7 separate regions of the Homo sapiens genome follow, and all the other regions are linked to region 1. Evidence: promoter capture Hi-C in 16 types of primary human blood cells and fetal thymus (Javierre and others, 2016). All regions are on one chromosome and are shown on one strand. The core of a region is centred on a gene start or on the middle of the fragment in contact, and the rest is flanking DNA. Distances in the headings are between cores, read along the strand shown.

Region 1 (3,657 bases), core at 762-3,261:
TGCAGTGGCTCACACCTGTAATATCAACACTTTGGAAGGCAGAGGTGGAAAGATCGCTTGAAAGCAGGAGTTGAAGACCAGCCTGGAGAATACAGCGAGAGACAAACCACCCCCCGCAACACCTTACAAAAAATTTAAAAATTAGCCAGCATGCTGGTGCACACCTATAGTCCCAGCTATTGAGGAGGCTGAATGGGAGGATTACTTGAGCCTCAGGAGCTCGAGGTTACAGTGAGCTATGATCACTCCACTGCACTACAACATGTGTGACAGAGCAAGACCCCTATCTTAAAACAAAAACAAACAAACAAAAACCCCTCTGTAACTAATGATTGGGTAAGCTCCTGTTAACTAAACCATGTACTGATTTTGGTTTCCAGAAAAAGGATTCAGATGACTGCATTTTGGAGTTCTCATGGGAAACAAATGGAATCAACCTTACTCTTAAAAGTTTAATTTTATTTAATCTAATTTGGGATTTAAATAATCAACGATTTCCCTACAAAAGTTAAATCTGACCCTAACTTGGTTCAATGCTAATTATTTTTAAAATAATCGATGCCCACAACACTATACAAACTGATGTTTTTTTTTTTTTTTTTTTTTTTTGAGACAGAGTTTTGCTCTTGTTGCCCAGGCTGGAATGCAATGGCATGATTTCGGCTCACTGCAACCTCCGCCTCCCAGGTTCAAGCGATTCTCCTGCCTCAGACTCCCAAATAGCTAGGATTACAGACATGCACCACCACGCCTGGCTAATTTTGTATTTTTAGTAGAGACAGGGTTTTGCCATGTAGGTCAGGCTGGTCTCGAACTCCCGACCTCAGGTGAGCCACCTGCCTTGACCTCCCAAGTGTTGGGATTACAGGCGTGAGCCACCGCGCCCGGCCCAAACTGGTATTTAAAGAAAAGAACAATGAATTATTTATAACTTAATTCTCAATGTCATGGTTAACATGTTCCGTGGGAACAACCAAGGGAAAAAGAGAGGATTTTGGCTTTTCATAACATCCAATTGGCAAAATCCTTTAAAATTTTTACAGAAGCCTCTAGTAAAATGCATATAACACTTTTCTCAACATGCTTCACCAGGTCGGTATGATAATGATGAGCGTATATACATATGGTCCCTGGTGACTTTTATCTTCTCTTTACTGCATCAACTATAAGGCAAATCCCGGATTCAAAGATGTTAAAATGTGAAGAAACGTGTGCTTTAGAATTCATGGAATAAGGTTCATCTTCTAAGTGAAGAGACTTCGCTCACTGGATACTTACCTCTTCATAGTATATGCAGTCGGCCATCAGTATGAAGTCGGGTGGAGAAGGAAAGCCTTCTATTTCTTCCCCCCTTAAAAATGCCAAACAAATATTTCAATTGTTTTAATAATTCAAAATACTCTTGTTTTATAAAGAACCGGAAAGTCCCCTTCCATCCTTTTAATGAAACGCAATTCAAAACAAACTACAAATCAATATCTTAAAACAAGCTGAAAGGCCATACAAACCATTTCAGTACCTTGGCTTGAACAGAACCAGTGACAAGATGCTTGTTCATATTAATATTCATCTTCAGCAAGTCTTGCAATTCCTCAAGATCGGTGACTACAACATCAGCCCTATAAAATAACGTCGACTGAGGTGTAGGCACAGGGGGGAAAGCCTGTAATCCGGATTTCCCCAGCAAGAAGGCGCCCCCACATCCCGCCCGCCCGCCAGCTCTTACCCGAGGGTAGCAGCCATGAGCCCCACGGCCCCGGTGCCCGAACCCAGCTCCAGCACCGACCGCCGGCTCAGCGCGTGGGCCCCGTCGCCAGAAAACTCGGGCGTTTCCAGGTATTTAGAAAGGACAATGGCAGCGTCCCACACAACGCAACCCACGCCACCGGAGCTATACTGCTGTAGTCGTAGCACTGTACCATCCCGCTTCTCCAAAACTCGCACAAAGCTCCGCAGTGGGTCCTCCAGCGAGGACTCCAGCGTATCCGCCATTGCGCCCGGCAACAGAAAGCGGCGCGCGCAGGGACGTCACATCAACGCGCACCGCCCCGCCCTGCGGCTCCGCCCCCTGCCCGCCGCTGAGTTGGCGACGCAGCGCGCGCGAGTTAACAAAGCCCGGAAGGCAGCGTTACCTGGGCGGGGCCGAGCGTGGGGCCCCTGCTTACCCGACGCGCTTGGCAGCCTCCCTCTACCCTAAATCACACGTTTGGCTTAACGAAGAGGCCGTTTAAATCACTTTCCCAGACAAAACTATTATAATCTGCTCTTTAAAAAACAAAGCCAACCTCAGAGTTTACCAAGTTGGACACTTGATTTACATAGTAGTTACAAGGCTTAAATGCAATCAGCTTCCAAGATCCTACCAAAGATGGCTATAATCTTACAATCTTCCTTTTCAAGTTCCTAGTATGCTCCTAGTTTTTTGTATGAATTCATAAAAGTGGTTGCTAGAAGCCTGCAGCTCACATTTAACAGTGAAGAAAAAATTGTGTGTGTGTGTGTGTGTGTCTATAGGACTCAACAATCTCCCCCTTTGTTCCTTATAATGAAAACACATATTTTAAAAGTCTTTTAAAAATTAAGACTGGGGTGATTTATTAATCTTGTTAAGAACTCTGATACAAAGCACAGTAAAAGGCCACAAACCAGTAAATAAACAACGTGGCTTTTGGCTACTTTACAACTGCTGCTACAGCACTATCAGCAAAACACTCTATCACTTTGAACGAAGGCATCCAAATGGCAAATAAAAGCTTTACTCACTTATCTGATTAAAATGTTTAATAAAGCTTTAAGTATTTGCTGGTTTAAATATTACCAATCTAAAAAATATATTTAAAAAAAATTTCAGTTAACACGAGATTTATAGAGAAAGTTACTAGGTCTTGAAGGCAAGGCAGTTGGTTCCTATGCCATAGAATTTTTTTTGAATTTATGAATTAGTAAAGTAGCAGATTGTATTATAGGCCTCAAGTCACTTAAATTTATATAGGTTATTAGCAGTATCTTTAAATATACAATATAAACAAAACTGTACATACATGGCATATTAACTGTTTTCCATAACAATAGGCAATTCATTAGCTAAAGACGTCATAGTCTGCAAAAACAAAAGGCACATCTGAATGAGATACATGCCCTTTTTCCCTCCATCATTGGGTTATGTAGTCTTTGTTTACATTTTGACAAAATAATAAACACTTACAGTGCCATTCTATTATTTTCATCCTACTTTTCATTTTTGTCTTCAGCAGCAAATACCGGCATTTAAGACATGGCATTAAAGAGTTTAAGAACAGTTGGTGTTATTCACAATTCTCCTAGATGTAAAAACTAGAAGTAAAAACTAGAAGATGGTCAAAGAGGTTTAAAAATCAGTAACACCATATACCCCTCCCATATTTGTGTAAATTCACTGCCTTAAAAAGGCATCTATTACTCAAATTTGAAAAATTTCACAAAAGCACTATCCCTTTTCAGTGCAATCATGTCACTTTAAACCATATTTTTGCAGAGTTTACAGTGCAAATATAAATTCTTTATACTGGCCTTTTGGCAGCACTGAGGATCCAAGACAAGGCAATGCTACTGATCACCTGAGGATAATGGTGAAGGACTTTTGTATTTTTATTTTTCCAATTCTTAAAAGCTTATTTG
Region 2 (3,657 bases), core at 370-2,869, 490 kb before region 1:
TTTGAGAGTCAAAAAAGATTGTATGTCCCTGGACTAGTACTCAAACTTCCTAAGTGTTAGTTTCTCTTTGTTCCTCATTGTAGGGTTATTTTGGGATTAAATAATGTGAAAATGAATAGCAAAGTGTTTAGCACATAATACATACACAGACAAAAGGCTTTTCTTGGCTGGGCGCGGTGGCTCATGCCTGTAATCCTAGCACTTTGGGAGGCCGAGGCGGGTGGATCATGAGGTCAGGAGATCGAGACCATCCTGGCTAACACGGTGACACCCAATCTCTACTAAAAATACAAAAAATTAGCCAGGCATGGTAGCATGCTCCTGTAGTCCCAGCTACTTGGGAGGCTGAGGCAGGAGAATCGCTTGAACCCAGGAGGCGGAGGTTGCAGTGAGATGAGATCGCGCTACTGCACTTCAGCCTGGGTGACAGAGGGAGACTCCATCTCAAAAAAAAAAAAAAGAAAAACTTTTCTTCTCTTAACATCACTCTGCCCAACCATTATGTAAATTTTGTTTAAAGTTATGATATTAAGAAATCAATAATTTGTTAGGTTTTAACTCTGTGCTTCATTACTCCTCTATAGAGCCCATCAACTTCCTTACCTTTGCATTAATTTGAATCTTATTATCAGTAACTTGAAGAACTTCAATTAATGGTGGGGTCAAGGACATAGACTGTTTGAATGGAGAGCTCAGGACCTCTTCAAGAAACTCATTAACATTTTCTTCATTGACAAATAACCTTTCCTAAAATAAAAAGGGAAAAAATATTCTGCCTAATAAGTCCCACTTGACAACAGTTGTATCTCAAAGCAGCTCACAAAAATTCTCACATTGTTCAGGGTTACACTTTTTAAAATGTTTATTTTAATGTTATTCCTATGAGCTGTCTTAGAAAAATTTAAGTTTGGTATTGTACAGAGCAATAAGAGTTGTACTGAGAACAAACATAAACGTATAGAAAAAGAACCTAAAAGAAAGAGGTCTTGGTACTTTTTCTGTCTATTAAACCTGACCTTTTAGTATTTTTCTTTCTTTTTTTGTTTCTTTTGTTTTGTTTTTTTGAGACATAGTCTCACTCTGTTGCCCAGGCTGGAGTGCAGTGGTGCAATCTCGGCTCACTGCAACCTCCGCCTCCCAGGTTCAAGCAATTCTCCTGCCCCAGACTACCGAGTAGCTGGGATTACAGGCGACTGCCACCATGCCGGACTAATTTTTGTATTTTTGGTAGAGATGGGGTTTTACCATGTTGGCCAGACTGGTCTTGAACTCCTGACCTCAAGCTATCCACCTGCCCTGGCCTCCCAAAGGGCTGGGATTACAGGTGTGAGCAACCACAGCTGGCCTCTTTTAGTATTTCAGAAGAATAACATCATCTCTAGGGCTATAAATGGGATCCCAGATACAAAATATAATTCAGCTTTAAAACATTTCCTAATGAGGTGGCTAAGAAATATACATGAAAAGATCTATTCAAATTTTGTGTGACCTTTTAGTTCTTGGGCAGGTAAGAGCCAATTACAGTATTTTATTTCAAATAAGTGGTGTGTTTTTTTGTTTGATTTTGTTTTTGAGACAGAGTCTTGCTCTGTCTCCCAGGCTGGAGTGCAGTGGCATAATCACGGCTCGCTGCAGCCTTGACCTCCCAGGCTCAAGTGATCCTCCCGCCTCAGCCTCTACAGTAGCTGGGACCACAGAACATGCCACCACTCTCGGCTAAGTTTTGCATTTTTTTGTAGAGACAGGGTTTTGCCCTGTTGCACAGGCTGGCCTCAAACTTCTGCACTCAAGTGATCCACCTGCTTTGGCCTCCCAAAGTGCTGGGATTACAGGCGTGAGCCACCACCACACCCAGCCCCCGCCCCCCTTTTTTTCTTTTTTTTGCCTTGAGACAGGGTCTCACTTTGTTGCCCAGGCTGGAATGCAGTCGCACACTCATAGCCCCCTGCAGCCTTGACCTCCCTGGCTCAAGCAATCCTCCACCTGTGCCCCCAAGTGCCTGGGTACCTGGGACTACAGGTGCATGCCATAATGCCCAGCTAATTTTTACATTTTTGGGGCCTGGTGTGGCAGCTAACGCCTGTAATTCCAGCACTTTGGGAGGCCAAGGTGGGTGGATCACTTCAGGTCAGGAATTCGAGACCAGCCTGGCCAACATAGTGAAACCCTGTCTCTACTAAAACTGCAATCACGTGAACCCGTGAGGCGGAGATTGCAGTGAGTCCAGCCTGGGCGACAGAGTGAGACTCTGTCTCAAAAAAAAAAATTTGACATTTTTTGTAGATACAGGTCTCACTTTGTTGTCCAGGCTGGTCTCCAACTCCTGGATTCAAGCTGTCCTCCTACCTTGGCCTACCAAAGTGCTGGGATTACGGGCGTGAGCCACTGCACCCAGCCAAGTGTATTATATTTTTAAGCACTGGGATACTCCAGCGTAACATTAGCAAACTGTATAGTTATTAAAAGAATGAAGTAGAGAGCATATATTCAGGGCATTTTGAATCTATGCTCCAGAGAAAAAGTAAATTATGAAAAAAATTAGGCTGGGCACAGTGGCTCATGCTTATAATTCCAGCACTTTAGGAGGCCAAGGCAGGTGGATTGTTTGAGCCCAGAAGTTCGAGACCAGCCTAGGCAACATGGCAAAACTCATCTCTACAAAAAATACAAAAATTAGCCGGGAGTGGTAGCATGCACCTGTGGTCCTAGCTACTCCAGAGGCTAAGGTGGGATGATCGCTTGAGTCTGGGAGGTTGAGGCTGCAGTGAGCCATGATCGCACCACTGCACTCCAGCCTGGGTGAGACAGAGCGAGACTCTGTCTCCCAAATAAATAAATAAATAAATAAATAATGAGGTAGATTTCAAGATGCTGACATGAAAAGATTTCTAAACTATTACTAGAAAATGCAAAAATCACCTTTTACCTGAATCCCAAACACAAAGCAGTTTGTTCATGTCAAGTGAATACAGGTGTATAGTTAGGGTGTGGGGAGAATAACCATATTAACCATATTTTAAATTAATTTATAAAAGCAGTTCATTGTTGCCCCAAATAAAAATGTTTTCCTCTGTAGTTTTATATAAGCAAATTTTGTAATTACAAAATAAACACAGCTCATTATTTGGTCCAAATAGGTGGAAAATATCAGAAAGAAACAAGTTTCAAGTTTCTTGAACTTGGGAACATATATTCAGGGCAACTTGAATATGTGTTTCCCAGGTTGCAGTCCTCTATTTTGGCCCAAATAAACTCTCTCTCCACACACACACACACACACACACACACACACATAAACTCTCTACACACACACACACACACACAAACTCTCTACACACACACACACACTTTTTTTTTTTTTGAGAAAGAGTCTCACTCTGTCACCAGGCTGGAGTACAACTGCGTGATCTCAGCTCACTGCAACCTCCACCTCCCGGGTTCAAGCAATTCTCCTGCCTCAGCCTCCCAAGTAGCTGGGACTGCAGGCGTGCACCACCACGCCCAGCTAATTTTTGTATTTTTAGTAGAGACAGGGTTTCACCTTGTTGGCCAGGATGGTCTCAATCTCCTGACCTCGTGATCTGCCTGCTTCAGTCTCCCAAAGTTCCGGGGCTACAGGTGTGAGCCACCACGCCTGGCTACGTATTTTTCTTCCAT
Region 3 (3,657 bases), core at 585-3,084, 460 kb before region 1:
ACACAAAATACTAATTCTTACCTGCAAGGATTAGTAGTAAAAACTGAAAATGGTACCCTTTGTCTGAATTCATTAGTGATGCTTTCAGCAAGTGGTGGCCTATAAAAACAATTTATGTGATATAGTTTATCTTTTTAAGTTTTACAAAATTTTCTACACTGTTGCAAAAATCTGAACAAAACTTACCTTGGTAAGATGGAACCAAATCCAGGATCCTCTGGACCAGGTACAAACACAAAACGACTACTGTAGCAAAATTCAACACAATTCATTTAAAAATATTATTGTAACACTATCCAATAGCTTAAAAGCAAGTTATTCCCTTTGTTTTCTCTTTAAAATTAAAAAACATTTAAATTTCATGCATTATAATAAATGAACTATTAAGTCTCCAGACCAACACTGTCTAGTAATGTCATGATAGAAAAGTTCTATATCTGCACTGCCCAATTGAACACTTGAATTGTGGCTAGCATAGCTGATGGACTGAATTTTATATTTAAATTTAATTAAACTTAGATTTAAAGAGACATGTGGCCAGTGACTATCATATCGGAGAGTGAAGCTCTAGACTCTTAAGAGTAATGCCACGAAGAAATTCCAAGTATGGCTGAAATTACCTCTATCCCTTTCAATACTTTTCATTATAAACCTCTAGTACAATGTGAGGATAACTTTATCTCTTAGTTCTTTTAATTTTCTCAACTTTATCTTTCTTCCTTAGTTTTGTAATAATTGCTGATATAACAAAATTCATTTTTTGTTTTTTTTTTAAGTAAAACGGTGAAAAAATATATAGTGCTAGAGATCATTACCTTTGGTGAATATCTGGGTATTCACATATTATATCTGCCAAAGTTTTTAGGGAATCTAAAATTTTAAAAAGGTATTGAATTAAATTTGCATATAATGCCATAAAATTATATTTGATTAGATACAATCCTGTATATTCTTAATTAAAATATTATGGATAATTTCTTATTACTTTAGTTTATATGACTATAGAAACACTTCTTATTAAATAGATCGTTAATACCTTTCAAAGCTTGAACTTGATTTTTTCCATATGGTGCAGATGAAAAATTACCACACAGAATAAAGCAGGTTGGAGGTGCTGGTGAATAACCTAAACAATAAAAGAGTAAATGAACAATACTTTTCTAGTCTACAAATCAAGTTAAAAACCCTTTAACCATGACTTTCTAATAATAAAAATTTATTTTAATTAAAATAACATTTTAATAACTTATTAAAATAATACTAATAACAGTAGCCATTCATTGAGCACTTACTATAGGCCAGGCCTGCATTGGCTTAATTACTCCTCAGAACATCCATAAAATCTGAGACTTAGGTTAAGTAACCTGCCCAGGGTAATAGGCTTGCACTTAAACCCAGTTTGTTTTTGTTTTTGTTTAGAGATGGGGTCTCACTATGTTGTCCAGCTGGTCTTGAACTTCAGGACTAATTCTTACTTATCATGACTATAAACACACACACACACACACACACACACACACACAGGTTTTTTTCTTAATGTAAAAATTTAAGTCTTTAAAATGAAATCTAATTTAAATTATCTCATTGCTAACTCTGTTTTTTTTTAAATAGAATACTCAAAAAGATAAATAGAATACTCAAAAAGTTTTAAAACATGAACCCTTAAAAGAGTTCAAGAAAGAAGAAAAAAAATAAGACCTACCAGCAAACATTATGCGAAGTTTTTCCAATACTTCCACCTGGTCCAACCAAACATCAGATAAAAACACAAACATAGCATCTTTATTCTCCTCTTCTAGCTGTTTTAGTTTTGCAGAAGTCTTCACAGATGTATTAGAAGGACCTCCAAAAAAATTAATATTTCCATAGTATGCCCTAGATAATTATAACATAATTATCTTCTATATACCACTAGAGATATTTTTCTAATAGTTGTATACATTTAGCTTCTTTGTATCTAATGAAGTTATTTTCCAGTGTAAAAAGGTACTCTTTGTAACACTTTAAAAGTACAAAGGTTATCTAAATATTCTAAAACAAGATAAGCAATATGGAAGCAGTAAATAAAATAATAGGCTATATCTGTGTCTTAAAACTGACTAAACGGCCGGGCACGGTGGCTCACGCCTGTAATCCCAGTACTTTGGGAGGCCGAGGCGGGCGGATCACGAGGTCAGGAGATCGAGACCATCCTGGCTAACACAGTGAAACCCCATCTCTACTAACAATACAAAAAATTAGCCGGGCGACGTGGCGGGCGCCTGTAGTCCCAGCTACTCTGGAGGATGAGACAGGAGAATGGCGTGAACCCCGGGGGGCGGAGCCTGCAGTGAGCCGAGATTGCGCCACTGCACTCCAACCTGGGCGACAGTGAGACTCTTGTCTCAAAAAAAAAAAAAAAAAACTGACTAAAGCAAACATTAAAATAATAATTTCCTATGTCACTGAAAGTAGAAGAAATGAGTACACCATTTGAACAATATCTCATAGAAACCTCAAAATATGTGCTAACCATCTGCCCAAGTAATTCTACTTCTGGAATGGCTAATCCTAAGGAATTAAAGATATATACAAAGACTAGCCTATATCCAAGAACTGTGAAAAAATTATTCAACGGTTCCTTCAAAGCTTGGTTTTATTCAATGCTCACCAAGCAAGGGTCAGTAGGAAAGTGGGTAATCTACACACTCCCAGCCTCCACCACTCTTGCCCACTCTACACTGACATCCTGCAGTTCCCAGCTTAAATGCAAATACCCCATAGGCCTCCTCTGAGGATCCCAAAAGAGGTTAGATTTTCCCATTATACACTCTCATAGGAACCTGTACTTCTCCTTTGCAGATCTTATCAAATTTGTAATCAGGCCAGGGTGGCTCACACCTATAATCCCAGCACTTTGGGAGGCCGAGGTGGGGGGATTGCTTGAGGTCAGGAGTTCAAAACCAGCCTGACCAACATGGTGAAATCCACCCCATCTCTATTAAAAATGTGAAAATTAGCCGGGCATGGCAGCAGGCACCTATAATTCCAGCTACTCGGGAGGCTGAGGCAGGAGAATCGCTTGAACCTAGGAGATGGAGGTTGTAGTAAGCCGAGATCATGCCACTGCACTCCAGCTTGGGCAACAAAGCAAGATTTTGCCTCAAAAAAAAAAAAAAAAATTGTAGTCAGCCAATTGTAATTGGGCGATTGTTTCATGTCTGTCTCCCCACCTAGTGGCAATACAGTATGTGCTCAAAACATATTTCCTGAATGTCACGAATCATGCTATAAAACAATATTTCACAGTAATAGAAAATGTTGATAGCATATTATTAGATGAAAAACACAGGTTACAAAGCAAGGTACAGTATGTATCCATTTATAATGCCAAAAAAAGGGAATAGATATAGACCTGTGCATTCATGCATAAAAAGAAACTCTCCAGATATACACATACATATCTTGTTATAGTTGATTCCTTTTTTTTTTTTTTCTTTTTTTTGACGGAGTCTCATGCTGTCTCCCAGGCTGGAGTGCAGTGCTGCAGCGGTGCGATCTCAGCTCACTGCAACCTTCATCTCCCGGGTTCAAGCAATTCTCCTGCCTCAGCCTCCTGAGTAGCTGGGATTACAGGCACATGCCACCGCATCCAGCCAATTTTGTATTTTTAGTAGA
Region 4 (3,657 bases), core at 536-3,035, 430 kb after region 1:
TCGGAAGGCCAGGCTGTGAGCCAAGGCCATGATGTCCAGCCAAGGAACAGGTGTTTCTGAGAACCCAAACATCATGGAGAGTATCTGGGAACCTACTAAGAAAAACAGTCTCATTGCTCAAACACAGTAGGCAAAGAGCCAGAAAATTAAAGGCAGTTTAGAGATGGAAAGTAGCACAGGTCTCTAGAGCTGTCCTGCTGCTGCTCAGGAGCGCCCTGTATGTAAGTCCTAATAAACTCATCTACTTGCCAATCTGAACTGTCTGAGTCACGTTTTGGTCTCAGCTCCCTCCCAGTTTGGGAGACCATTATTCTATAAAATCCTGGGCTTTTCTTATAACAATTGGCATCACAAACAGGATCTAAGAGACCAAAGGGAGATTCAGGAAGGGGTGTCTGCAGTGGGAATCCCAGGGTGGTCGACGGCATCCATGTGGGGTGAAATAGTCCAACTGCTCAACCTTTGTGGGCTGCTGCTTGAGTACAGGGATGCTTAGAAAATTCCAGTGGGGAGTAAGCATGTAGTGCAAGGACCTAAGATGTTAAAGTACAATAAGAATAGCAGATGTGCTGTTGCTGTGGTAAGACTGGCTACTGAGAAATTGTTAAAGCAGGAAAAATAGATACAAAAGTTAAGGGAGGAGCTGCAGTTAGAAAGGCACATGCGAGTATCCATGTCGGCCCTGGTTGGGGATTTGGTGGAGAAGGTAGATAAAAGGGAGGAAGGGTTGGAACTCCTGTAGCTTATGTTTCCAAAAACATGGGGAAGTTCAAAGGCATGCCAGGTTTTCTAGGACGCCAGCTGGTTACATATTATGACTCATCCTTGTGCACCTTTTTAAACTGATGGCCAAATTACAGCAAGAAAAATCCAGAGCTCAAATGTTTCACCTTCAGCTATAGTTCATCAGATCTTCTGAAGCTCTCTATTTCTCTCTTTTCTTTTCTGCCTGCTTTGAATCTGTTGTTATTAAACTACTGGTGTTGAAATCAAACTCACTGTTTATGGTACTGCTAATTCAAAGCCACTTGGGGATTTTGTTTTTCTTACACAGGTCAGACAATTCTAACTAAAATGTAAATGTTAGAAACTCATTTGAAACTGAAGAAAAAAAAGAGGGTAAAAGAAGTTTTTTAAAAAATCAAACTGCTATGAAAACTACTTTACCCCAAATTTTTGTCCACAGCCTTCACTGGATTACCTATTAGGCAAATAAAGTTTAGCCATATGAAGGGGTCCCAATTTTGTCAAAAATGATATGGATCCAGTTATCCTTTATAGTCTCATGAGTTTATAATACTATCTCATGGCTAGAGTTCTGAAGTAAAAGGTACTGGGTGTGTGTGTGTGTGCGTGTGTGTGTGTGAGAGAGCATACATGTTTATGTTTATATGTATGTACATGTGTTATATGTTATGTCTGACATGCTACCAACTTGGCTTATAAGTAAATGAGTACTCACACATTAAGGTAAAGTCAAGTACTTTTTAAGTTTGTGTAAATTTAGTAATCTTTAATAAACAAGCTGGATTTAAAATTATTGGTAAAATAAAATAGAAATGTCTTCAGAATTGTCTGCATACATTTTTGTCTAGGTTTACTGATTAGGTAAGTTTTATATTTGCCTCTGCTAGATATTTTAAGATGTCAGAGTTTGACATGAAAGTTATAAGACTGTAAACCCAGCCAAAACCAGAATGATCTTTGTTTGTGTGGTTTTTTTGACAAATAAGACTAATTTAATATAGTTGGTTCAATGAAAGTAACAAAATCTTCTGAATTATCAGCAAAATGCCCATGTGTTTAAGGTTTTTTTTTAATTATTATACTTTAAGTTCTGGGGTACATGTGCGGAACATGCAGGTTTGTTACATAGGCATACACGTGCCATAGTGGTTTGCTGCACCCATATACCCGTCATCTACATTAGGTATTTCTCCTAATGCTATCCCTCCCCTAGCCCCCCACCCCCCAACAGGCCCTGGTGTTTCTCACTCATAAGTGGGAGTTGAACAAAGAGAACACATGGACACAGGGGGAGGGGGGAACTTTAAGGTTTTTACTTAGGTGAACATCTTATATTTACAGGCTATAAAAATGGTTAACAGGAAAATAAGTTAGAATAGTGATTAGATTTGTCTAATATCTCAGTTCTCATGAGTCATCCAGATAAACTGCTAAAAACGAATGAATTGGATAGATATGAATGAGATAAATGCTTATAGGTGAACTCTTGTGTAATTTAAAATCTTAAAATTATTTTAGGTACTCAGTGAATGTCTGAGTGATTTCCAGTTGAAAAAAAAATGTTATAATAGAGGGCATTGGTTGTACTTCTGTACCTGTTAATGGGAAATGAAATCTGTTATGTAGGGGAAGCATTGGTGGACCTCTGTGAGCTGAATAAAAACAAGGACGGAGTCTGAAAATAAATCAAGGAGCAAAAAGAATATGGGCCAAATGGGTGCCTGTACACTTGCCCTAGCCCAGGCAGGCAACGAAGATGAAATAATACTGCCTACCAGGGGAAGATTCTGAGATCACCCAAACAATCCAGAAGTTACATAAGGTACAGATAGGCCAGAACCCCTATAACAGCCCTGTGTGGCCTGTGAAAAAGCCAAATGGCACTTGGAAAATGATGGTAGACTACCATGAGCTAAATGAGGTGGTGCTGCTTGTATCTGCTGCCGTACCCAATATTACTCAACTGCCACAGCAAGTAGTCCTTAAGCTGGGAAGTGTCCGTGCTATGATTGACTTGGATTATGCCTTTTCCAGTATTCCTTTAGTGGAAGATTTACAAGACCAGTTTGCCTTCACTTGGGAGGGCCAATAATGGACTTTCCAGGTACTACCAAAAGGATACCTGCACAACCCCACCATCTATCACAGTATAGTTGCATAGTACCTATCTAGACTCTCTTTGCCTGCCTCAGTCTCTGTGTTTCACTGTATTAATGATATCATGCTAACCTCAGAGTCTCTTGCAGATGTGGAGACTACCCTACAAACCACCTTGGATGGCCTAAAGAACAGGGGATGGGAAGCCAACCCCAAAAAGATACAGGGGCCCGGGATAGGGGCCCAAATTCCTGGGAGTTACCTGGTCAACTAAGACATGAAACATACCTGGAGCTGTCACTGATAAGATAGTACAGCAGCTTGTTCCCCAGACAGTAAAGCAACTGTAGGTTTTCCTAGGTTTACTGGGCTACTGGAGGATATTCATTCCTCATTTGGCACAAACCCTCAGCCCATTGTACACCCTAATGAAGAAGAGTAAAAAATGGGATTGGGCACACATAGAGCAAGAGCCATTTGAGAAAGCAAAAATATTGGTGAAACAAGCCCAAGCACTAGAGGTCCCACTGCCACAGGATCCTTTTGTATTAGAAGTCACTAGAGATGCCACAAGGATGACTTAGGGTTTGTGGCAAAAGCAGCCAATGGGAATGGTAACTGTAGGGTTTTGGTCTCAATTATGTTTCTTTGTTTTGAGATGGAGTCTTGCTCTGTCACCCAGGCTGGAGTGCAGTGGCGTGATCTCGGGTCACTGCAAGCTCCACCTCCCAGGTTCATGCCATTCTCCTGCCTCAGCCTCCCCAGCAGCTGGGACTACAGGCACACACCGCCACGCCCAGCTAATTTTTTTGT
Region 5 (3,657 bases), core at 351-2,850, 420 kb before region 1:
TTTTATGTAAGAAAGGATAGGAAATACGAATAGAAAGACATATAGTTAATTCTCATTACTGTACCTGTGATAGTTAGATTTTATAAGTAGCCACCAACAAATAATTATTGAATACTAAACCATTCCTACTAGGGGAAGTACAGAATTAGGTTCCTGTGAGCCTCTGGTGACAATGTTTTCATCAACTGATCAACATATAACCTTGTTTTGTTTTTTTTTTTTTTTTTTTTTTGAGACGGAGTTTCGCTCTGTCGCCCAGGCTGGAGTGCAGTGGCGCGATCTCGACTCACTGCAAGCTCCGCCTCCCGGGTTCACGCCATTCTCCTGCCTCAGCCTCCCGTGTAGCTGGGACTACAGGCGCGCGCCACCATGCCCGGCTAATTTTTGTATTTTTAGTAGAGACGGGGTTTCACCGTGTTAGCCAGGATGGTCTCGATCTCCTGACCTCGTGATCCCCCCGTCTCGGCCTCCCAAAGTGCTGGGATTACAGGCGTGAGCCACCGCGCCCGGCCTATAACCTTGTTTTATGTGTGTTTTTATGTAAAGACATCTTTACATTGTGATTCGTTAACACTGAACTCAGGGCCAAGAGCCCTATAACTCATAGCTGAAGGAAGCTTATTTATCACATGTATTTTCTCCATAAGGCACTCCCACTCTCAAATAATTCAACAAAATGAAAAAGACAGACACACACATACCAACAAACATAAAGCTAGTATGGTAGTATTAATAATTATTAACCTGGAGTGGAAGATACACAGGTACTCTTTGAACTATTTTTTCAACTTTTTTTGGTTTGCTACTTTTTATATTAAGAAATTGGAGAGAAAATAATCAATTCCAGTTGCCCAGCTTTCTCTCACAATCTGACCTCACAATTCCCCTTTTCCCATAAATGTTCCCAATCATAATTCTCTTTCTCTAATAAATTTTCAACTTCTTCTATGGCTCCTTCACCTGGCCAGCTCATAAAGTCCCAATACTTAAATGAACAATTATATGCTGATGACTCCAAAATCCCTATCTCTAGCCCTTAGCTCTCTTAGACTTCAAATCCAACTCAATATGCCTCCAAATGAACTCACCATTAGCCCTGCCCTCCCCCAAACCTGTTCCTCCTCCCATGTTCAATAACCTAGCGAAGGGCTCCACCCACCTCCCACCCAGTGACCAAGCTGGTAAACTAGGCATATCCTTGACTCTTCCCTCTCACGAATGAAAGTTCCTTGAACAACTTCCGTTCATCATTCAGTTCTTAACTTAGACTTTACTTTCTCTCAGGAACCTTCCCTGTCTTCCCTCAATCTGAGTTAAAGGGCCTCTGTACACCCAAGGTGCCCTGGACTTTTGCTATTTTCACACTTACTGCACGGTATGGTAATTGTCTGTTTGCTGGTCTATAGACTCCACCAGACTCTACAGTCCAGGAGGACAAATGCTCCATTTCAAAAATACAATACCAATATTACTAGTAACAATAAAGTGATGGAGTGAGAATTATGATTGACATATAGTTTACACTAAGTAAAATGCACATATCTGTATGCAGTTCAATGCATTTTGATAAATGTATACACCCATGTAACCACCACCTCAATCAAGATACAGAACATTTTAATCACTCCAGAACACTTCCTGTACTCCTTTCCATCAGTCCCCTCCCCCTCCCTACTCCCAAATGACCACTTTTCTGCTTTCTATTATCATAGATCACTTTTGTCTATCTTGAATTTCTTCCTTCCTTCCTCCCTTCCTCCCTCCCTCCCTTCTTCCTTCCCTCCCTTCCTCCTTTTTCTTTCTTTCTCTCTCCCTTTCCCTCTCTCTCTCTTTCTCTCTTTCTTTCTAAGGAACCTTGCTCTGTCGCCCAGACCGGAGTGCAGTGGCGCGATCTCGGTTCACTGCAACCTCCACCTCCCGGGTTAAAGCGATTCTCTTGCCTTTGTAGCTGGGATTACAGGCATGCGCCACCACGCCCGGCTAATTTTTGTATTTTTAGTAGAGACGGGATTGCCCAGGTTGGCCAGGCTGGTCTCAAACTCCTGAGCTCAAGTGATCCGCCTACCTCATCCTCCCAAAGTGCTTAGATGAGAGGCGTGAGCCACTGCAATCCAGTTACATTTGTAAAGTTAAATATGCATTTATCCTCTGACCCAGCAATTCCACATCTAGAACTCTACTCCAAAGATAGGCTTGTACAAATACAAAATAACATATGCATAACGTTTCATCGCAGCATTATTTATGATAGCCAAAAAAACCTGGAAATAACCGATATGTCCATCAATAAGAATCTGTTTGAATAAGCTATGACACATCCAATCGGTGGAGTGCTATGAAGCTATGAAAAGGACTGAGGAGACTGCTTGCTGTATCCTGATATGGATCGTCAAGTGAAAAGAGAAAGTTAAGGAACACTGTATATACTTCCTTTTGTGTAAGAAAAGGAGCAGATACTCTGTTTATTTGTATAGTCAAAAATAAACAATAGAAAGTATCATTAAAGTGCACCAGACTTAAGTGCCTTCTAATGTGATGCAATATGAAGTATTTTCCAAAAAAAAATCTGAACTAGAATCTAATAAAGCTTTTAGATACAGCTTCCAGCCTAAAAGAAGTATGGGGAAAGGATGCACAAGTTAATGAGAAAAGACACTGAGGAACCAAACCCAGAAGGTGGTACGGCTGTAGGAAAATAAGAAAACTAATCCATATAACAAACAAATGGCACAAGAGAGAAGGGAGAGAAGCTATTCTAGAGTAAAACAGACGTAAAGTCTTAAGAGGCGTTAACAACGAATTACGGTGCTGAACAAACCAACTATAGAAAAGACATTTTGAGATAATCAAGGAATCTGACTACAGACTGACTACTAAATGAGGCTGTACTGCCAAAACACAATTCCAAGAGAGAAGGAATCTGCGCGTGGAAAGCCCAGGCCCCTTGCCCACTGCGAGGAGCCAGAACGTCCCTCCACAGCCGCGCCGCCCCTGGCTCGACTTCCCGAGCGAGAGCCGCGGGACGTTGCAGACGCACTGGCTCCGCCTTCCCACCAATCTCGACCCTCGCCGCGTTCCGTTCGTGCGTGGAGCAGTCGGGGCTGGAGGCGAGGCCGCCGGGCGGGCAGGGGTTGTGGCGCGGCAAGCGGCGGGCCAGCGACGGCGCGAATGGCGGACTCTCAGCTGTTCTGTGTGGCGGAGGAACGCAGCGGCCACTGCGCCGTGGTGGACGGAAACTTCCTCTACGTGTGGGGGGGCTACGTGGTAAGGGGAAGAGGCGGGACGGGGTAGACTCGCGCCGGGAGACCCTCGGCCTGAGCGGACGCAGCGCCCGCCACACCCGCTCCCGAGGCTGCGGCCCAGGCCTGGCGCGCCCGGCGCCTGCAGCCCCCCAGCCCCTCCGCTGGCCGCCGCCCCCACAGCCGCGCCAGGGCTTGACGTCGTCCCGCCGTTGCTTCTTCTATTAAAGCCTCAGACCCGGCTCCGGGCCTCTTACCACTCTCCGCCCCTCTTTGCCAGCAATTCAGTAACCACGGTTTGCCCAATGCAAAGGCAGTTACAGCGCGATTAATTATTATCCTTAAATACTGGCGCAGACCTAGAAGGACCCGAGGACGCCGTGCTGTATCATTTTGTATATATTTCCTTATTCCCACG
Region 6 (3,657 bases), core at 808-3,307, 410 kb after region 1:
CAGACACATTCACCTATGCAATGCCTTATGTTCAAAACCAAACACAAAATCCAGACTCCACATATTTGGTATTTCCTAACTCTGTTGATAGCATCAATGTAGTCACTCAAGCCAGAAATTCTAAATGCCATCAATTACCCTTCTCCTCCTGCCCCTCACCGATTACCAGGTGTTTTTGATCATCTTCTAAATATGACTCAAATCCATCCCTTCCTTTCATCTTCTATACCAGGGCCTAAATTTAGTCTTGCATAAACTCTCATCCGGATTATTCGGGAACTGGTCTCTACATTTCTAGCCACTTTGTAAAATCCTTACACTACACTGTAAGATATTTCCTCCTAAAAAGTGTTTCTCTAGTCCGGGCACAGTGTACTCACACCCTAAAATCCCAGCACTTTGGGAGGCAGAGGTGGATGGATTGCTTGAGCCTCCGAGTTCAAGACCAGCCTGGGCAACATGGCGAAACCCCACCTTTACAAAAAAATAAAATAAAATACAGAAATTAACTGGGCATGGCAGTGTGTGCCAGTCCCAGCTACTCAGGAGGCTGAAGTGGGAGGATCACTTGAGCCTGGGAGGCGGAGGGTCTAGTGAGCTGAGATCATGCCACTACACTGCAGCCTAAGTGAAAAAGTAAGACCCTGTCTCAAAAAAATAAAAATAAATAATTGAAAAGGTCCAAATTCTTTGATATGACACATGGAGTCCATTAGCTGGTGTTTCCTGCCAGAAAATAGCCTCTATTCTCCATCTATAAAATAATAAAAATAAATAATTGAAATGACATCTCTGCCAGATGTCACACTGAACCTGGAATGAATACAGATGCAGATCTCTCAAAACTCATCACGGCTTCTCAAGCCTCCAGGTGTTTGCACATACTATACCCAAAGCCTGGAATATCTTTTCCTATCTTCTCTACCTAGAAACCACTGGTCTTCTTTTAAAAATCCAGTTAATGTTCCTTCCTCTGTTAATCTTCCTTGGTTCACACTCCTCTCTCTCCCTTCCTTCATCCCCAATAAAGGCAGAGTTTGGCATTTCTTCCACTTCTCCTCTATGGCACATAATTTTCTACCAAATTATGACTGCTTACATGTCTGCTTTCTTTTTTCTTTTTTGAGATGGAGTTTTGCTTTTGTTGCCCAGGCTGGAGTGAAGTGGCGCAATCTCAGCTCACTGCAACCTCCGACCCCCGGGTTCAACCAATTCTCTTGCCTCTCCCAAGTAGCTGGGATTATAGGCACCTGCCACCATGCCCGGCTAATTTTTGTATTTTTAATAGAGATGGGGTTTTGCCATGTTGGCCAGGCTGGTCTCAAACTGCTGACCTCAGGTGATCCACCAGCCTTGGCCTCCCAAAGTGCTAGGATTACAGGCGTGAGCCACTGCGCCTGGCCACGTCTGTTTTCTTGACTAAACCATATGTTCCTTATTGACAGTGTACTTCATCTCATGTTTGCATCCCCATATCCTAACACATTGTCAGCACTCAACAAATACTTCTTTAATGAATGAATGCTTCTAGAAGTGTGATGATACATTAAGCTTTGTCTCTATAAAATGGGATCTTGGGATATGTTTCAAAGTGCCTAAAGCCATTCCAGAATGGTGACTCTTGGCTGGAGGAAAAGAAAGTAAAGGCATACATAAAGGAGATTCCCCATAGCAGACCTAATTCATCTAGCATCCAGAGGAACCCACGTTAGTGATAAGACTACATGACAAAGACTTCTACGCAAATTATAACATCATTTATAATTGCAAAAAAAAAAGTTTAAAAACTAGAAATAACAAATATGCAACTTAGAATGATTAACTAAATGAAGGCTCATTCAACGGATCCTTTAAAAATAGTACTTTTGACTGGGTGTGGTGGCTCACCCTGTAATTCCAGCACTTTGGGAGGCCAAGGTGGGCAGATCACGAGGTCAGGAGATTGAGACCATCCTAGTCAACCTGGTGAAACCCCGTCTCTACTAGAAATACAAAAATTAGCTGAGTGTGGTGGCACATGCCTGTAATCCCAGCTACTCAGGAGGCTGAGGCAGGAGAATCACCTGAACCAGGGAGTCAGGAGGTTGCAGTAAGCTGAGATTGCGCCACCGCACTCCAGCCTGGCGACACTGCAAGACTCCGTCTCAAAAAAAAAAGTACTTTTGTATGATTACACCACTGCACTCTAGCCTGGGCAAAAGAGCAAGACCCTGTCATCCAAAAAAAAAAAAAAATGTACTTTTGTAGAATATTTAACGACTAGGGAAAATGCTGGTCATTTCAATCAAACAGAAAAAAGACCTGTATCATATTCCCAATCATAAATTAAATATAAAAGCCATTTTGGAAATACTGATTTAAAAACATTTAGGAAATAAGCCTGAAATAAACTGTATTAAATTATTAGCAGTACCTATCTCTGAGTAATTTTCTACAACTAATTTGTTCAACAAATATTTATTGAGCATTTGTTTGTTACATTACAAAGATGTGCAAGAGACATCTGTTTCTGTCCCCTGGGAACTAAACATGTTATTCTTCTATAATCAATCAGATAAAGCAATAAAGCTTAGAAAAAAATTCATAGGATTGCCCAGTCTAAATTTATATTCTATGAAAGGTAAAATAATAATAATAATAATAATAAATAAATAAATAAAAATAAAAATAAAAAGCCAGATTGCCAGAACTTCTCTGAAATCTAGGCTGGAAGCAATTTTGATACAAATATTTGGATAAGGGCTGCCCAAATGGCTTGTACTACTGATTATGAACTGTATCATGATGCTGTAGTTGTTATAGATCCTTGTGGTCAGAGGTAGTTGAGAATCTAAATCTCCAGATTTATCCTTCCTGCTGGCAGATCTACATTTTTACAGTAATTACAAATAAAAGCTGCTCAGTTGACATTTAATCCTTCATCCACCATCCACCAAATTCCTTTTCTCTTCTGTGTTTCTTTTCCCTCTACCATTTCCTGCTCTTGCCCTCAATGATTCACTCCATTTATCTAAAAGAATCTTTATGTTCCTCCTCTTCTTTCAACCAAAGAACAGCCAATATAAGATTGAACTCTCCCTCTTGGGGATTCTCAGGAAAGATGGAAGCTTCAGAGGGGATCTGTGGTATTGATGAACATAAAAGTAAATTACGAAGAATCTCAAAGCCAGAGTCCTTTAAAGCTTCTGCTTCAAAAGATACCTAAGGTGTAAAAAAAAAAAAAAAAAAAAAGGCAGGGAAAAATCCAGGCTTGGTGGCTCACACCTATTAATCCCAGCCCTTTGGGAGACTGAGGCAGAAGCATCACATGGGGTCAAGAATTTGAGACTAGCTTGGGCAACACAGGAAGACCCTGTCTTTACATTAAAAAAAAAAAAAATTAGCCAGGCATGTTGCCACACACACTTGTAGTCCCAGCTACTGAGGAGGCTGAGGAGAGAGAATCCCTTAAGCCCAGGAGTTCAAGGCTGCAGTGAGCTGATCGTGCCACTGGACTCCAGCCTAAAGCACAAGACCATCTCTCAAAAACACAGGGGGATATTATCTGAGTAGAACAGTGGCTAATTTACCTTCATTATTCTTTACTGCAGGTATTTCACTAGTTTATATCCTACATTGAAAATACTTCTAAAACGTCCTAGGATGTTCAGCTCATCA
Region 7 (3,657 bases), core at 444-2,943, 390 kb after region 1:
TATGATTTATGTTTTTAAAAGTTCACTCCAGAGGCTTTCTGGAAAATAGATGGTGGGGAATGGGAGGTGTGGGCAAGGCAACAGGCACTAGAAGGGTGGAGATGGGTAACAAAGACAAGTAGATGGATTCAGGATGTGTTCTGGAGGTAGAGCTGAGGGAACTTGCTGACAGACTGATTCTTGAGCACAAATAAAAGAGAGAAATCGAGGTTAATGCCTACATTTGTGGATGGGTTAACTGCTTAGCAAAATGCAGAAGAAAAGCAGGTTTGAGAAGAATAATCAATTTATGGATTTAAATTATAATATTCCTAATACGGGAAAATCTTTTTGATAATATGACTTAGCCTATTGATAGTTGATACTAAGTAGGTGAGAATGGAAAGGAAATGGCATAAAAAGACCAATGGTGGGTAGTAAATCTACTAAATATAAAACTAAGTCTAAATAATTGGTCATGGCATTTATAAATTATAAATATTATATTTCTTAAAAGAAGGTACACATAGTAATACATACTCATACCCCAGTGCAATCAGAAAGTTTCTGGGCTAAAATCCCCAAATAAACCAATGAACAGTTGAAAATTGGGGGGATGATGAGGCAGGAAGAGTATAAATATGCAAATTTCAAAATCTGTAAACCAAGAATTCAACAGATGACTGTTTTATTTCTTAAACTGATAAACTAAAACACCCACAAATTTAAGTATATTATTCAAGGTCTTACAAGCCATTCTCTGACAAAACTACAGAATTGTATCTTACAAATTATCAGCAGTAAAAATAAAAGAAACCCCCAGCTATAATTTTTTTTAAAATTTAAGAAAATATTAAAAACAAAAACAACAACAGAATTAAAATTAAACATCTCTCCAAACAATATAATAGTGGACAGATTCACATATTAAAAAAAGAAAAATTCAGATTGGGTTATAAAACAAAAGTCAAATATAATTTTTTACAAGAGAAACATCAACAACCTAGAAAGGATAATGATAGGCCCAAGTATACCAGTTCTATCCATTTGTTGTATGCCACATAAATATAAACAAAAAGAAAGGAGGGTTGGCAATATCAATGTCAGATAAAGTTATATTCAAGGTAAAAAGGGTATCAAAGATCATTAAGGGAGTGAATGATTAAACATGGAGGATGCAAGTCACAATAGTAAGGGAAAGACTGAAGCCACTGACCAATATGAGTGACTAATGCATTATACATTTATTCCATTATTCTAACTCCCCCACTGGAATTCAAGTTCCGTGAGAACAAGGTCTTTGCCTTTTTGTTCTCTTCTACATTCCTATCCTCTAGAACAGAGCTTGGCGTATATTAGGTATTCAATAAATATTTATTAAGAAATGAAAATATAACATGAATTTTATGGGTCAACTGACACACATATAATACATTAAGCAGATGTGCCACAAATGGAAGGAGAAATGGACAAAATCACTCTAGTGGAAGATGATCAACACTTCTGTCAGAACTCATTTATGCCTACTGTTCCATTATGGGAACGCTAAGCACGTGGGAGTTATTTATAGCCTATGGCTCAAGGTCATCACCAAGGTCTGATTTTTCACACGTCTGCAATTCAAAAAACTGCAAACTCCAGCATAAATGGGTTAATAACACTGGAAGCACTATCCTACAATGTGAAAGTCTGGGCCAAAATAACATTCTATGTATGTCCGTATAGTTGCAAAAACCACGAAAAACATTTGAAAACTGCCAGAAAAATATGAATTCTGTAAGACTGCCAGAGACAAAATATAACCAATAAAATCAATGGCGAAGTAAATATCTATAATAACCAATTAGACAGTGTAAGAGGGAAAAAGGAAGCCATTCCCAATAGCGAGAAATACCATAAATATGAAGACGTGGCAAAAACTTTCCTAAAGACCTGAATAAGAAAAAACCTTTACTATTGTCAAAATGCCAAATATCCTACATTAATCTATGTGCCTTTTTTCTTCTTGATAAAAATGATTTTAAAGTTCTGAAGAAAAAAATTTTACAAACAGGAAATACCTGAAAAATAAAAAGAGTGAAGATTATAATACGCAACAAAAGTTTTGGTAATCAAAACCAGGATAGTGTTGAAGTAGGAATAGAAAAAAGAAAGTCACTGGAACAGAACACAAAATCTATGTTTACATGGAAATTTAGTTTATGACAACCAAGGCACTTCAAATCTGTGGATAAGAGACTGAATCTATAGTAATGGCTTTGGGAAACTAGCCATTTGAAAAAATACATAGAGAGAGTTCTCTTTCATCCCTTAGAACAAACTTGCTCCTGATTGAGCAAATATTTAAATTTTGGAAGGAAAAAAAGGAAAAACTGGAAGAAATTACAGTTCAAAATTGTTATAATTATCTAGGAGAAAAGGCCTAAGTACAAGGAAATGGGGAATAGAGAAAGGAGGACTGACAAATTTGTCGGAGAGAAAAAAGAACACTTCCACATGGAAAAAAAAAAGTATAAGCAGAGTGCAAAGACAGAAGACAAATTGTGGGAAGTGTAAAATACATGATGAAGAGTCACTATCCCCAAAATGCAAACAGCATCTAAAAATCAATAATAAAATACAAATAACCTGATAGGACTGGGGCAAGGCATAAGAATAGGCAACCAAAAAAATTTTTAAATGGCCAAATACTAAGATCACATCATCAATATTTACTGAACTTCCATGTTATTCTTTTTTGGGGGACAGGTTGAAATATTACTCAATCTTAATACATGGGTCACATCTAACATAAAATAATCAGTAGCTTTTACAAAACAAGGCAGTGAGAAATTCCAGCCTTTCAAAAGAGTCTTATGATCCTTGCATTTAATCCTTATATTTTAAGTAATCATACACATATTTTTCTTTTTTACTGAATTGCCTTCTTATGTTAGTTCTAATATATGGCTTATTGAGAATTCAGAATTGCAGGATTTAAAAAATACACTCATTAATTCATTATAATGAACTATAATATTAGGTTGGCAAAAACTGCTATAATATTAGGTTGGCAAAAACTGCAATTATTTATGCATCAACCTAATGAAAAATAAGCCATACCCTCAAGTCAAGTAAGTGAAACCGTGTTGTAACAAGCCCACTGCACTCGCTTAAGACAGAAAAGGGATAAATATCTTTGTTTTCTCTGAGAGCACACGCCAGTACCTGGACATAACTTGAATAACCATCCTTGAACATAATTTGAATATTTGCTCTAGTGACTTTTCCAGGACAGGCAAAGGCTTGTATAGTTCTGTTATATTCCCTATTTGTGTTAGTGACATTTTGGAGATCATTTTAAACTTATTAGGTGGCACTTAATAAGAGGATCCTGAAAGAGTATTATTATAACAATTTCTATTTGCCAGGACAAAAAAGATACTGGGACATATCTGAAAGCTTATTTTTAAAGTGTTCCAGCATATGCTACCTCAGTACTATTATCTCTCTAATGAATCACATGTATAATGATTCAAATACTGTGTTTGAAATGCAAAGTCATTTTAACCGCTCAAACTAGGAAACTGGCATAATTATGGTCACAAACTTATCCTACGTGCCTAAGCTTATGAACCAGCAAATGAACATACCACCAAATATTCGCTTACCTGGTCAAAAACTACTACTGCACTCATT

The links. Contacts are between HindIII fragments. The CHiCAGO score rates a contact against its expected background, and 5 or more counts as called.
Region 2: a fragment that was not itself captured here is called in contact with the fragment with the promoter of VCPKMT in region 1 in 5 of 17 cell types (fetal thymus, total CD4 T cells, naive CD8 T cells and 2 more); the score reaches 8.7 in fetal thymus.
Region 3: a fragment that was not itself captured here is called in contact with the fragment with the promoter of VCPKMT in region 1 in 5 of 17 cell types (erythroblasts, total CD8 T cells, naive CD8 T cells and 2 more); the score reaches 7.6 in erythroblasts.
Region 4: a contact is called between a fragment that was not itself captured here and the fragment with the promoter of VCPKMT in region 1, in 3 of 17 cell types (naive CD8 T cells, megakaryocytes and activated CD4 T cells). The highest score is 6.2, in naive CD8 T cells.
Region 5: a contact is called between a fragment that was not itself captured here and the fragment with the promoter of VCPKMT in region 1, in 9 of 17 cell types (non-activated CD4 T cells, naive CD4 T cells, fetal thymus and 6 more). The highest score is 11.8, in non-activated CD4 T cells.
Region 6: a contact is called between a fragment that was not itself captured here and the fragment with the promoter of VCPKMT in region 1, in 5 of 17 cell types (erythroblasts, total B cells, M2 macrophages and 2 more). The highest score is 7.2, in erythroblasts.
Region 7: a fragment that was not itself captured here is called in contact with the fragment with the promoter of VCPKMT in region 1 in 1 of 17 cell types (erythroblasts); the score reaches 7.1 in erythroblasts.

Annotation. Positions count from the first base shown.
Region 1 is chr14:50,114,561-50,118,217 of GRCh38, forward strand. VCPKMT (valosin containing protein lysine methyltransferase) reads right to left here and starts at 2,012. Exons shown (of 6, transcript NM_024558.3): 1 at 1,727-2,012; 2 at 1,509-1,619; 3 at 1,279-1,351. The coding sequence starts at 1,992. It overlaps SOS2 (SOS Ras/Rho guanine nucleotide exchange factor 2), which reads right to left. Exons shown (of 23, transcript NM_006939.4): 23 at 2,570-3,657. RefSeq lists an enhancer at 1,949-2,008. The HindIII fragment of the contact is 15,614 bases long and covers 1-2,751 here.
Region 2 is chr14:49,627,409-49,631,065 of GRCh38, forward strand. DNAAF2 (dynein axonemal assembly factor 2) reads right to left here. Exons shown (of 3, transcript NM_018139.3): 2 at 604-747. Among named protein-coding and RNA genes, the nearest start is that of DNAAF2, 6.0 kb to the right of the region's middle. The HindIII fragment of the contact is 7,948 bases long and covers 1-3,657 here.
Region 3 is chr14:49,653,969-49,657,625 of GRCh38, forward strand. POLE2 (DNA polymerase epsilon 2, accessory subunit) reads right to left here. Exons shown (of 19, transcript NM_002692.4): 11 at 1,703-1,875; 12 at 1,037-1,126; 13 at 816-870; 14 at 187-246; 15 at 22-99. Among named protein-coding and RNA genes, the nearest start is that of DNAAF2, 21 kb to the left of the region's middle. The HindIII fragment of the contact is 1,583 bases long and covers 1,044-2,626 here.
Region 4 is chr14:50,545,029-50,548,685 of GRCh38, forward strand. It overlaps a transcript of MAP4K5 not described here and a transcript of ATL1 not described here. Among named protein-coding and RNA genes, the nearest start is that of ATL1, 13 kb to the right of the region's middle. The HindIII fragment of the contact is 6,765 bases long and covers 1-3,657 here.
Region 5 is chr14:49,690,027-49,693,683 of GRCh38, forward strand. KLHDC1 (kelch domain containing 1) reads left to right here and starts at 3,094. Exons shown (of 13, transcript NM_172193.3): 1 at 3,094-3,264. The coding sequence starts at 3,169. RefSeq lists silencers at 3,239-3,288, 3,299-3,468. The HindIII fragment of the contact is 1,970 bases long and covers 616-2,585 here.
Region 6 is chr14:50,525,193-50,528,849 of GRCh38, forward strand. The region is part of intron 2 of MAP4K5 (mitogen-activated protein kinase kinase kinase kinase 5); the gene reads right to left. Among named protein-coding and RNA genes, the nearest start is that of MAP4K5, 5.5 kb to the right of the region's middle. The HindIII fragment of the contact is 1,017 bases long and covers 1,550-2,566 here.
Region 7 is chr14:50,500,611-50,504,267 of GRCh38, forward strand. The region is part of intron 3 of MAP4K5 (mitogen-activated protein kinase kinase kinase kinase 5); the gene reads right to left. Among named protein-coding and RNA genes, the nearest start is that of MAP4K5, 30 kb to the right of the region's middle. The HindIII fragment of the contact is 3,450 bases long and covers 1-3,418 here.